4 separate regions of the Homo sapiens genome follow, and regions 1, 3 and 4 are each linked to region 2. The links are contacts of gene promoters, found by promoter capture Hi-C in blood cells and fetal thymus (Javierre and others, 2016). All regions are on one chromosome and are shown on one strand. The core of a region is centred on a gene start or on the middle of the fragment in contact, and the rest is flanking DNA. Distances in the headings are between cores, read along the strand shown. Region 1 has its middle 14 kb from the start of GUK1. Region 2 holds the start of OBSCN-AS1 (OBSCN antisense RNA 1). Region 3 overlaps OBSCN (obscurin, cytoskeletal calmodulin and titin-interacting RhoGEF). Region 4 overlaps ARF1 (ARF GTPase 1).

Region 1 (2,700 bases), core at 28-2,527, 87 kb before region 2:
GTCCTAGAACTGGGGTTAATCAGAAGTGAGCATGGAAGACTAGCATCCAAGATGGAGGTGCTTTAGCCTGCACATGGTGAGTATTCTTTTGGTTTCATTTTTGGCTGCTTGCATGCAAATTAGACCTTTTCCTCTTGTTTTCATTGTTTCTAAACATCGTTTGAGAGCAAAATAACACAACATTGTTGTACACGGTTGAACACTTAAGAGCCACTGGGGTTCTCACCACCATTTTATAACAGATTCGAGTCTCCAAAGTCAAAGACTCCTTTGAAAGGACAAACTGGTCAGATACAGGCAATATTACCACTGGGGGCATACCAGTTTCAAGAAAATTTCTGTGTAACAAGGGCTCCGTGGTCACAGGTCAGACAACTTAGGGCAAAGGCCATCCACCAAGCAAAACAAGTATCCTGTGAAAGGCATACTTGTGAAAGCAGAACACTTTGTTCAAGAGTTAGTTTCCTCAAAGGACCAATAGGATTTTCTTTTTGCTTTTGAGAGATTAAGAAAGAGAATGGGATTCCCAAATTCTAAAGCATGCAGGGCAACCCTCCTTCAGGACCCCAGCCAGCTCCATGTCCAGACATTCAGGATCACCCTTGTGCACCCTTTTAAACCAATGGGCAAATTACACTAAGGATAATTTGGAGCTCCAATGGCCATTTGCAGATCAAACTTCTGAAGCTTACTTTTCTGAGAACTAAATTAGGAGACCATGGCTATAGGGTCAGTCTTAATGGGAGACATATTACAATTGGCATCTTGAGGCTTCAAATCACATTCAGGACTCAAAAATTACCTCTATACAAAACACTGTCTCAAAGCCAGTTGAGACAAGTAAACAATTAAAAGAGGCAAAAAAAAAAAAAAAAAAAAAAAAAAAAAAAAAAACCTTAGAGGACCAGACTCTCTCCTCCCTGGAACCTCCTCCCCGACTTCCTACAGCCCTTCCTATGAGCACTGATGACCCAGCTAAATCCCAAGTCTCCTATGTTCCTTTGACCAAGGCTTGGACTAAGGCTGAACTCGGAGCCATTGCCAAGGAATTCCTAAAAGTTACTGAAGACTGTAACTCATTTGCTGATGAATTCAACATGGTAATCCAGGCCTATCAGTCTGGCTTTCCCAGTCTATAACAGCTGCTTCATACACTTGTTGATGAAGGCCAAGCCCAACATTGGATGGCTAAAGCTAACTGGACCCCACCTGAACTAGACAAACGCCCCAATACTGGGAACAAGCTCACAATCTAAAGACCCACAGAGCTATTCTTAAGTTTTCCTTAAAGCCATAGACTGGAACAAGATTCAACTTGTACCCAAAACCAAATGAACAAGTTCAGAATTATTACAGTGTTACAGTTGACTCCGCATCATCTTTAAGGACAATTCTAGACTTCTGTAAATGTTTATTCTACCCAAGTAGCCTTTAATTCTATGTTTGTGAATGGCCTAACTTGAGAGCTTTCCCAGCTTGTTAAAATAATCCACATGGAATGCGGAGGCATGTCCACTCCACATTTAGTAAGGTTGGCCAATCAGCCCCATGAGGATACCAATAAAAAGAAAATTATCAAAATCCTCAACCACCAGCTGCAACAAACAGAAGCCCCCAAACAAAATCCTCCTGGCCCCTACCATTATTATAAAAAACTGGACACTGGAAGAGAGGTTGCTATAAGTTAAAGAGAGTTAAATGACCCCTCCCTCAAAACCCTCAAGGTGTATATTCCTTTATTAAGCCATTCTTGAATTGCTATAAATACCCAAGACTGGGTAATTTGTAAGAAAAAAAAGAATTAATTGGCTCACAGTTCTGCAGGCTGTGCAAGAAACATGCAGCATCTGCTTCTGGAGAGGACTCAGGAAGCTTCCAATCATGGCAAAAGGTGAAGCAGGAGCAAGAGAGAATGGGGGAGGTGCCACACACTTTTAAACAACCAGATCTCTCGAGAACTCACTCGCTATCATGAGGACTGCACCTGCACCAAGAGGATGGTGCTAAACCATTCATGAGCAATCCACCCCTGTGATCCAATTACCTCCCACCAGGCCCCACCTCCAATACTACATAGAGATTGCAATTCTTTCCTTCCTTCCTTCCTTTCTTTCTTTCTTTCTTTCTTTCTTTCTTTCTTTCTTTCTAGATAGGGCCTCACTCTGTTACTCAGTTTGGAATGCGGTGGCAAAATCTCAGCTCACTGCAACCTCTGCCTCCCATGCTCAAGCAATCTTTCCACCTCAGCCTCCTGAGTAGCTGGGACCATAGGCGCGCATCACCATGCCTGGCTAATTTTTTTGTATTTTTGGTAGAGACAGGGTTTTGCCTTGTTGCCCAGGCTGGTCTCGAACTCCTGAGTCCAGGCAATCAACCTGCCTCAGCCTTCCAGAGTCTTGGGTTTACAGGTATGAGACACTGCCCCCAGCCTGGGGATTACAATTCAACATGAAATTGGGGCAGGACATTAAAACCATATCAACTCCCAGTAATGGGACTCCAGCGAATTGTAGGGATTCTTCTCATCCTTCCCCACAACCATGTTAGGGAAATAACTCTTAAGATCAAGAATGAGGTCCTAACTGTCCTTATAGTTACTGGAGCCACATTTCCAGGGCTCAACTCCACTAACCTCAACCAGCCTCTGCTTTGGAGTAAATACAAATAGTTTTGAGTCTATAACAAACCTCAAGATGTCTT
Region 2 (2,700 bases), core at 93-2,592:
GCGACGGCGGCACTTACGAGGTCCGCGCCGAGAACCCGCTGGGCGCTGCCAGCGCCGCCGCGGCGCTAGTGGTGGACTCGGACGCCGCGGACACGGCCAGCCGGCCCGGGACCTCCACGGCCGCGCTCCTGGCGCACCTGCAGCGGCGGCGCGAGGCTATGCGCGCCGAGGGCGCCCCCGCCTCACCGCCCAGCACCGGCACGCGCACCTGCACGGTGACTGAAGGCAAGCACGCGCGCCTCAGCTGCTACGTGACCGGCGAGCCCAAGCCCGAGACGGTGTGGAAGAAGGACGGCCAGCTGGTGACCGAGGGCCGGCGCCACGTGGTGTACGAGGACGCGCAGGAGAACTTCGTGCTCAAGATCCTCTTCTGCAAGCAGTCGGACCGCGGCCTCTACACCTGCACGGCGTCCAACCTCGTGGGCCAGACCTACAGCTCTGTGCTGGTCGTAGTGCGCGGTGAGCTCCTGGGTGCGGGGCGCGCGGGCCCAGGCTCCTCCGCAACCCGTGCACCTGGGTCCTTTCGCCCTTGCGGTCTGCCGTTTCCCACCCGCGTCTGTCCGGTCGTGGAATCCAGGGTTGCAGGTGTCCGTTCCTGGTGCGCAAAATGCGGGCGACGCCCCACGACCTATTCTAAACACCCGCAACCCGCTTTCCCCACCCAGTCCCCTGCCCGCCCCGCCCCCTTTGCATGCCGCGCCCCCAACCCGCCACCGCTGGCCCACAGACAGGGGCGAGAGGTGTGAGAGGGGCGGGGCCGCAGGGGATCCCACCTCCTCAGCCCCGCCCTCTCCCTCCCGCTGCTCCCAACCCAACCTCCACCACTCTGCCTTCTGCTCTTCTACTCCCCCGCCCCCCAACTTCCTGTCTCCTCCCCTGCGCCCTTCCCAACCCTTAGCCCCTCTGCCTCCTGCTCGCTCCTCTCCCCAGCCCACTCCTCTACCCTGCACCCTCTCCTTTCCAGCCTCCCAGCCCCTCTGCTCCTGTCCCCTATTCCTTCCCACACCCTCACCTCTGCATCCTCCAGTCTCCTTTCCCGCCCACAATCCCCCAATTTCCCCCTTCCCACCCCGCCGTCGTCCTGCACCCTCCGGCCCCGCCCCTCTCACCAGTCTTCTCTCCTGGCAGAGCCCGCGGTTCCCTTCAAAAAGCGGCTGCAAGATCTGGAGGTGCGGGAGAAGGAGTCGGCCACGTTCCTATGTGAGGTGCCCCAGCCGTCCACTGAGGCCGCGTGGTTCAAGGAGGAGACGCGGTTGTGGGCGAGCGCCAAGTACGGCATCGAGGAGGAGGGCACCGAGCGCCGCCTGACCGTGCGCAATGTCTCGGCCGACGACGACGCGGTGTACATCTGCGAGACGCCAGAGGGCAGCCGCACGGTGGCGGAGCTCGCAGTCCAAGGCAGGCGGGGCGGGGCACGGGGCGGGGCACAGGGCGGCTTCGGGGAGGTAGCGGGGGCAAGGAGGCACCGAGAAGGGAGCCGGGGGCGGGGGAGGGGGGAGCCAGGCCGCACGGGCTGGGCGGGCACGGGGGCGGGCAGGGTGCAGACGGACTGGGCTTGCGAGGTACGAGTTGGGACTGGGGCAGGCAGGGGCGGGACTGGGGCGGGAAGGGCAGGTAAGGTGGGGGCGGAGGAGCAAGCTCGGGCCGGGCACGGGGTGGTGATTAGGGGGAAGGGGAGACGGAGTGGGCAGGGGTCTTGTGGGACCGAGCTGGGACTTGGGCCGGCGGGACAGGTAAGGGGTTGCGCGGGGGAGTGAATCGGAGGCAGTTGGGAACCGGGAGACAGGGGGCAAGCGGAGGAGCGAGTCTGGAGCGGGGCGTGCAGGGGCTGGTCTGACTGGCCCGGCTCCCTCCACCCCAGGAAACCTCCTCCGAAAGCTCCCTCGGAAGACGGCGGTGCGCGTGGGCGACACGGCTATGTTTTGCGTGGAGCTGGCGGTCCCGGTGGGCCCCGTCCACTGGCTGCGGAACCAGGAGGAAGTGGTGGCGGGGGGCCGCGTGGCCATCTCCGCGGAGGGCACGCGCCACACACTAACCATCTCCCAGTGCTGCCTGGAGGATGTGGGCCAGGTGGCCTTTATGGCTGGCGACTGCCAGACGTCCACCCAGTTCTGCGTGTCGGGTGAGGGCCTGAGGGTGCTCCCAGGATGGCATCGCTTCCCTGCTGTCTCCCTGGTCCCAGTCCCCTGCCCTCCATTACCTCAGCTCTCTGGGCTTCAGCCTGCTGTACCGAGGGCCGCCGGGCAAGACCATAGCCCTGGCCCTCCAACGTTAGGCTCCCTGAGCCCCCGCGCAGTCTTTCAGCTGCAACCAGAGAAGTGGCTGCAGGTCTGGGGCTGGAGGTTGTGGCCAGTGGTCCAGGTCCCCAGAGCAGCCCCAAGAGAGCTGGGGATCCTGTGACACCCCTCCAGGTGATTCCAGACCCAGGGCTCAGGAAGAGGCTCCCAGTAGTTGACCTCTGCCCACCCTCTACACAGCCCCCAGGAAGCCTCCCCTGCAACCCCCTGTGGATCCTGTGGTAAAGGCCAGGATGGAGAGTTCCGTGATTCTCAGCTGGTCCCCACCACCCCATGGGGAACGCCCTGTCACTATCGACGGCTACCTGGTAGAGAAGAAGAAGCTTGGCACCTACACCTGGATCAGGTGCCACGAGGCTGAATGGGTGGCTACACCTGAGCTGACCGTGGCTGATGTGGCGGA
Region 3 (2,700 bases), core at 197-2,696, 66 kb after region 2:
GGAGCACCATCTCTGATCCACCCCATGCCCCCACCACGTTCACAGAGCTGCCAGTGACCCTCGTGCGCCCGCTGCGGGACAAGATTGCCATGGAGAAGCACCGCGGTGTGCTGGAGTGTCAGGTGTCCCGGGCCAGCGCCCAGGTGCGGTGGTTCAAGGGCAGTCAGGAGCTGCAGCCCGGGCCCAAGTACGAGCTGGTCAGTGATGGCCTCTACCGCAAGCTGATCATCAGTGATGTCCACGCAGAGGACGAGGACACCTACACCTGTGACGCCGGTGATGTCAAGACCAGTGCACAGTTCTTCGTGGAAGGTGCAGGCAGGGAGGGCAGCTCTGCAGGTTGCTTTTGTTGGGGGGAGTCTCCCAGGTCCATGGTTTGCCCTACACTCCTGGAGACGCTGGGTCTGGGCAGCTCAGGAGGATGCTAGCATGCATCTAGCAGGGCGGGGGCTTGTTCCCAGGAAGGAACCCTGCCGGAGGGGCAGCATGTCCTATCCGCGGGATCCGCCAGCGACTGCTCCTCCCCAACAGAGCAATCCATCACCATTGTGCGGGGTCTGCAGGACGTGACAGTGATGGAGCCCGCTCCTGCCTGGTTTGAGTGTGAGACCTCCATCCCCTCAGTGCGGCCACCTAAGTGGCTCCTGGGGAAGACGGTGTTGCAGGCTGGGGGGAACGTGGGCCTGGAGCAGGAGGGCACGGTGCACCGGCTGATGCTGCGGCGGACCTGCTCCACCATGACCGGGCCCGTGCACTTCACCGTTGGCAAGTCGCGCTCCTCTGCCCGCCTGGTGGTCTCAGGTGAGCACTCCCGCCCCGGTGGGTGGACGTGGGGCAGAGCCACAAGAGGACAAGGTTCAGGGCTGTTGGGAGGCCTGGACAGGGCTGTGGGTGGGTACAGGGCAGGGCCATGGGAGGAGAAGGCTCAGGGCAGTGACAACACAGTTCAGGGCCACAGATGGATATCAATTAGGGCCAGGGGAGGACACAGTTCAGGACTGCAGAGGACACAGCTCAGGGCCAGGGGAAGACATAGTTCAGGGAATGGTGGACACAGCTCAGGGCCAGGGGCGGACACAGTTCAAGGCCATAGGTGAGCAGGCTCAGGGCTTGGCAGGCAGGGCAGGGTGATTGGTTCCTGTGGTGCCGTGGCCCAGCCTCTCCCCACTCCCTGCAGACATCCCCGTAGTCCTCACACGGCCGTTGGAGCCCAAGACAGGGCGTGAGCTGCAGTCAGTGGTCCTGTCCTGCGACTTCCGGCCAGCCCCCAAGGCTGTGCAGTGGTACAAGGATGACACGCCCCTGTCTCCCTCTGAGAAGTTTAAGATGAGCCTGGAGGGTCAGATGGCTGAGCTGCGCATCCTCCGGCTCATGCCTGCTGATGCTGGTGTCTACCGGTGCCAGGCGGGCAGTGCCCACAGCAGCACTGAGGTCACTGTGGAAGGTGGGGCATGAGGGGCATGGGGCTACTGAGAGGGTTTTGGGGAGGGGTTGCCTGGTGATGTGGACACTGAGGCCCGGTGTGTCTCTTGCAGCGCGGGAGGTGACAGTGACAGGGCCGCTACAGGATGCAGAGGCCACGGAGGAGGGCTGGGCCAGCTTCTCCTGTGAGCTGTCCCACGAGGATGAGGAGGTCGAGTGGTCGCTCAACGGGATGCCCCTGTACAACGACAGCTTCCATGAGATCTCACACAAGGGCCGGCGCCACACGCTGGTACTGAAGAGCATCCAGCGGGCTGATGCGGGCATAGTACGCGCCTCCTCCCTGAAGGTGTCGACCTCTGCCCGCCTGGAGGTCCGAGGTGAGTCATCCCACGAGTCTTCGGGACTCCCCACTAGGAATGGGACAGGCGCTGGCCTCCCTCACCCTCCTATCCCTCCTGCAGTGAAGCCGGTGGTGTTCCTGAAGGCGCTGGATGACCTGTCCGCAGAGGAGCGCGGCACCCTGGCCCTGCAGTGTGAAGTCTCTGACCCCGAGGCCCATGTGGTGTGGCGCAAAGATGGCGTGCAGCTGGGCCCCAGTGACAAGTATGACTTCCTGCACACGGCGGGCACGCGGGGGCTCGTGGTGCATGACGTGAGCCCTGAAGACGCCGGCCTGTACACCTGCCACGTGGGCTCCGAGGAGACCCGGGCCCGGGTCCGCGTGCACGGTGTGTGGCTGCAGGCACGGCAGAGCTCAGGGAAGGGAGGCGTGCTGGGTGGGCATGGATGTGGGGCCAGCCACTACCTGGGTGGCCCACATCATTCTCTGAGATTGAAGGGCTGCTCTGCTGAGCCGGGGAGGTCAGGGGAGCCTTCTGGGGGAGCCATGGCTTGATGTGGTCCTGTGAGGCCTGGGTGCAAGCAGGTGGACCCGGGGACAGTGGGTCCCGGAGCCAGAAATTGTCCCCGGAGCCAGGGTTGGAGGCTGTGCTGTCCCTGCCCGCTGGTCCCGACGACATAGCCTGGGGATGTTGCCCTGTACCAGGGGACGTGTCTGCATGGAAGTCATCAGGCCACTGTGGGGACACCAGTGGGGATAGCCAGGGAGAAGCCGAGATGCCAGGCAGGGGCTGTGAGTAGGCCACGTCTCTGTCCTTCACGGGGCCCCAGCAAGGCCCTAAGGCCACTGGGCTGGCAGGGTAGAGCCATCCCTGAACCCAGCCCTGCAGCCTTGGGGGCGTGCGTGCCCTGGAACCTGTCCTGCTTTTCAGGGGA
Region 4 (2,700 bases), core at 30-2,529, 130 kb before region 2:
GGAAACTTTTAAGTATTTTATAGGTTTGATTTAGGTACAAATGGCCAAGAAGCTATCATCTATACTCATCCTGGGGATTGGGAACGGAGGCAGTTAGATGTGCCTGTGCTTTGTACCTTCTGTAGATGGGAATGCAGTTGCTCACTCACCAATCAAATTTATTGATTTATATTTAAAATACTATGAATACATCTTCTGGCAATTTTGGTGGTGACATTTTCCTTAAAATATTTGTACTAGCCAGGCACTGTGGCTCACACCTGTGTAGTGCAATCTACTTGGGAGGCTGAGGCAGGAGAGTGGATCACTTGAACCTAGGAGGTCAAGGTTGCAGTGAGCTGTGATCATAACCACTGCACTCCAGCTTGAGTAACAGAGCAGGACCCTTAGCTCTTAAAAAAATTTATACCTACTCATCAGCTGAGGACCTGGGGGCAGGTTTAGAAAACAGATTTTGAACACACATCCTTCCCTCCCTCTTGTGTCTGACATCACTGAGCTGCCACACTTTTGCCTTCAGTAGTTAACAGCATCTACAACCCCATTTTCCCACATTTTTATGGTCAAAAGAATGTTCAGACTGACCCACACATGAGTACAGTTTTTAAAAAGCATGCAATTCCTTGTTGATGCGATAGGTTTTTCGTGACGAACTTAATTTTTAGGGAAAGCACATCTGCAGATGTGTACAGTTGATCTTCATGAGCCCTATGGGCCTGATAAACATTCTTTTGCCATTGTTTTCTCCTCTCCTTGGTGGTGAGTCACTTGTGCAGTGCCCAGCGGAAGAGGGTGGGAGGCTGGGGAGGAAGGCCTGTTCTGGGCAAAGGAAGCCCTGCTTGATGAGCATGAGGCTCCACGGGGGCAGTGGCTGTGACGGTGAGTGCCACACAGAGCTGCCCACACTGGTGGAGGGAAGGCAGGGAGATACCAGGACCATCCGGAAGGGGCTGAGTGTCATTTGACAGGTGCCATGTGAGCAGAGATGTGAAGGAGTGGCCCGGGACAATCAGGGCAGAATCCCTGAGGTGAGTGCGCTGGCTGGCAGAGTTTGGAGACCTGTCAGGAGTAGGGTGCATACTGGGTGGGAAGCCTGCTGGGGTGTGCAGTGGCCCTCGGAGGGGGTCCGCGGTTCCCAGAAAAAGGAATTTGGTAATCTGTGGTGGCATTTTTGGGTGGCAGCACTGGCACCTTTGGCAGTGGCAAGAACACTTCCTGTCTGACCTTCATGTAGGGGAGGTCGTCTGATGTCCCAGACCTGTTATAAATATGAAAAAAAAATTTTTGTGCATAGTTTTAACAGGTGTTCTGAAGTTCCAGGAACAAAATCACCTTATAAATCAAAGATGACTGTGTATTGTTCTCTTCAGAATCACAGCAAGAATTCAGTTTCCAGAAGGAAAAGCTACAGTAGTTGCTTCATGGACATGGCTTGCCCTTGAGGTTGGTGGTGTCAGTGCATGAGCAGCCTGGTAAGGGTGGTTCTCTGGCCGCCACCCTTGGTCCTCTAGCGTGGTTGTGAAGTCACTTTCCTTTACTCCCCATTGCATCATAGTTGGGACAGAGCAGTGGTTCTCTGCCGTCTTGTGCGAGTGCTGGGATGCTGTCTCTACTTCCTTTTGGGTTGCCAGAGGCAGCATTTAGAGCACAGTGTGGGCATTATGTTGTGGACCAAGGCAGCCTATTGCAAGGACCTGATCGGGCGGCAGCCGTGGGGCAGCTCTGAGTAGAACATCGGGTCACCTGGCTGACTGGTGTGCTGAGAACACGCAGGAGGAGGCTGGAGACGGGGTTCTTGCCTGGGGAACAGGAGGGAGGCTACTCGCATCACAGCGGAGAATGCCTGTTGGGTTTGGGAGGGGGGTTTCGGCTGCAAAGCTGGCTGTCAAGGGGCAGGAATTGGGAGGAGGGTCTAAAGTCTTGAAGAGAAATGTGGGGTCGTTGTGTAGGGGCCACCATCACCTGGAGAGCAGGGCAGATGCCAGCGTGTGTGTGAGAACTAGGTCACTTGAAGGGAGGTCCCCAGAGTGTCCCCGGGGTGTGCCTTTCTCTCACCTAGGTCTGGAGTGCCTCCAGAAGCGAGGATTTCCTGCAAGGGCGGTGGCCTCCCAGGGTCTGTGGGGGGGCATCCCCGTCTCTTTACATGTCTGACTGACCAGAGTGGGGTGGGGTGGCAAGGTGGTGCTCGTCCCAAAGCTGGGGGAAACCTGGTGATGGTTCCCACTCCCATTGTTGCACTTCGCTTTTGATTTCTCTGGAAGAGCAAGTCTTTGTGTGGTGTTTCCCCTCAGCCTACATTTTTAAAATGAACGTTTCTTGAAGGCAGAAATCAAGTTTTAGGCATTGGCTCAATCACTGGTGCAGCCATTGCATTAATTTTCTTTAACCTGGTGCGGAGAAGCTACAAGGGCCCCACCCCCTTCTAGTGGTTGGAGGAAGGAGCAACTTGCTCTCCCAGTTTATGACAGCAACACCAGCAGTGTGCTGTTCCAGTTCCCCTTTTTTTTTTCAAGTGGTGTAGAAAGGGGCCTTCAGGGCCCTGGATCCCCCAGCCCCACACAATGGTGGGCCTATGTTCGTCCAGAACAGTGCCTGGCAGTAGCTCAGTGCCCAGCATGTCTGTGGTGAGTGTGTAGTTCAGGAAGTGAACTGGCAAAACTGAGTATCACCCTCTCTTCCTGGGTTCTTGCCACTCCCCTG

Evidence for each region. Contacts are between HindIII fragments. The CHiCAGO score rates a contact against its expected background, and 5 or more counts as called.
Region 1: a contact is called between a fragment that was not itself captured here and the fragment with the promoter of OBSCN-AS1 in region 2, in 2 of 17 cell types (total B cells and fetal thymus). The highest score is 5.4, in total B cells.
Region 3: a contact is called between a fragment that was not itself captured here and the fragment with the promoter of OBSCN-AS1 in region 2, in 1 of 17 cell types (fetal thymus). The highest score is 6.9, in fetal thymus.
Region 4: a contact is called between a fragment that was not itself captured here and the fragment with the promoter of OBSCN-AS1 in region 2, in 1 of 17 cell types (fetal thymus). The highest score is 7.3, in fetal thymus.

The regions. Positions count from the first base shown.
Region 1 is chr1:228,125,296-228,127,995 of GRCh38, forward strand. No RefSeq gene overlaps it. Among named protein-coding and RNA genes, the nearest start is that of GUK1, 14 kb to the right of the region's middle. The HindIII fragment of the contact is 1,185 bases long and covers 686-1,870 here.
Region 2 is chr1:228,212,313-228,215,012 of GRCh38, forward strand. OBSCN-AS1 (OBSCN antisense RNA 1) reads right to left here and starts at 1,343. Exons shown (of 2, transcript NR_073155.1): 1 at 1,110-1,343. OBSCN (obscurin, cytoskeletal calmodulin and titin-interacting RhoGEF) reads left to right here. Exons shown (of 116, transcript NM_001386125.1): 2 at 1-459; 3 at 1,129-1,398; 4 at 1,862-2,122; 5 at 2,478-2,700. RefSeq lists a silencer at 1,430-1,479. The HindIII fragment of the contact is 3,550 bases long and covers 1-2,618 here.
Region 3 is chr1:228,278,644-228,281,343 of GRCh38, forward strand. It overlaps OBSCN (obscurin, cytoskeletal calmodulin and titin-interacting RhoGEF), which reads left to right. Exons shown (of 116, transcript NM_001386125.1): 31 at 46-312; 32 at 532-801; 33 at 1,178-1,444; 34 at 1,536-1,802; 35 at 1,887-2,153. Among named protein-coding and RNA genes, the nearest start is that of OBSCN-AS1, 66 kb to the left of the region's middle. The HindIII fragment of the contact is 9,114 bases long and covers 1-2,700 here.
Region 4 is chr1:228,087,250-228,089,949 of GRCh38, forward strand. All of the region lies in intron 1 of ARF1 (ARF GTPase 1), which reads left to right. Among named protein-coding and RNA genes, the nearest start is that of ARF1, 5.9 kb to the left of the region's middle. The HindIII fragment of the contact is 7,232 bases long and covers 1-2,700 here.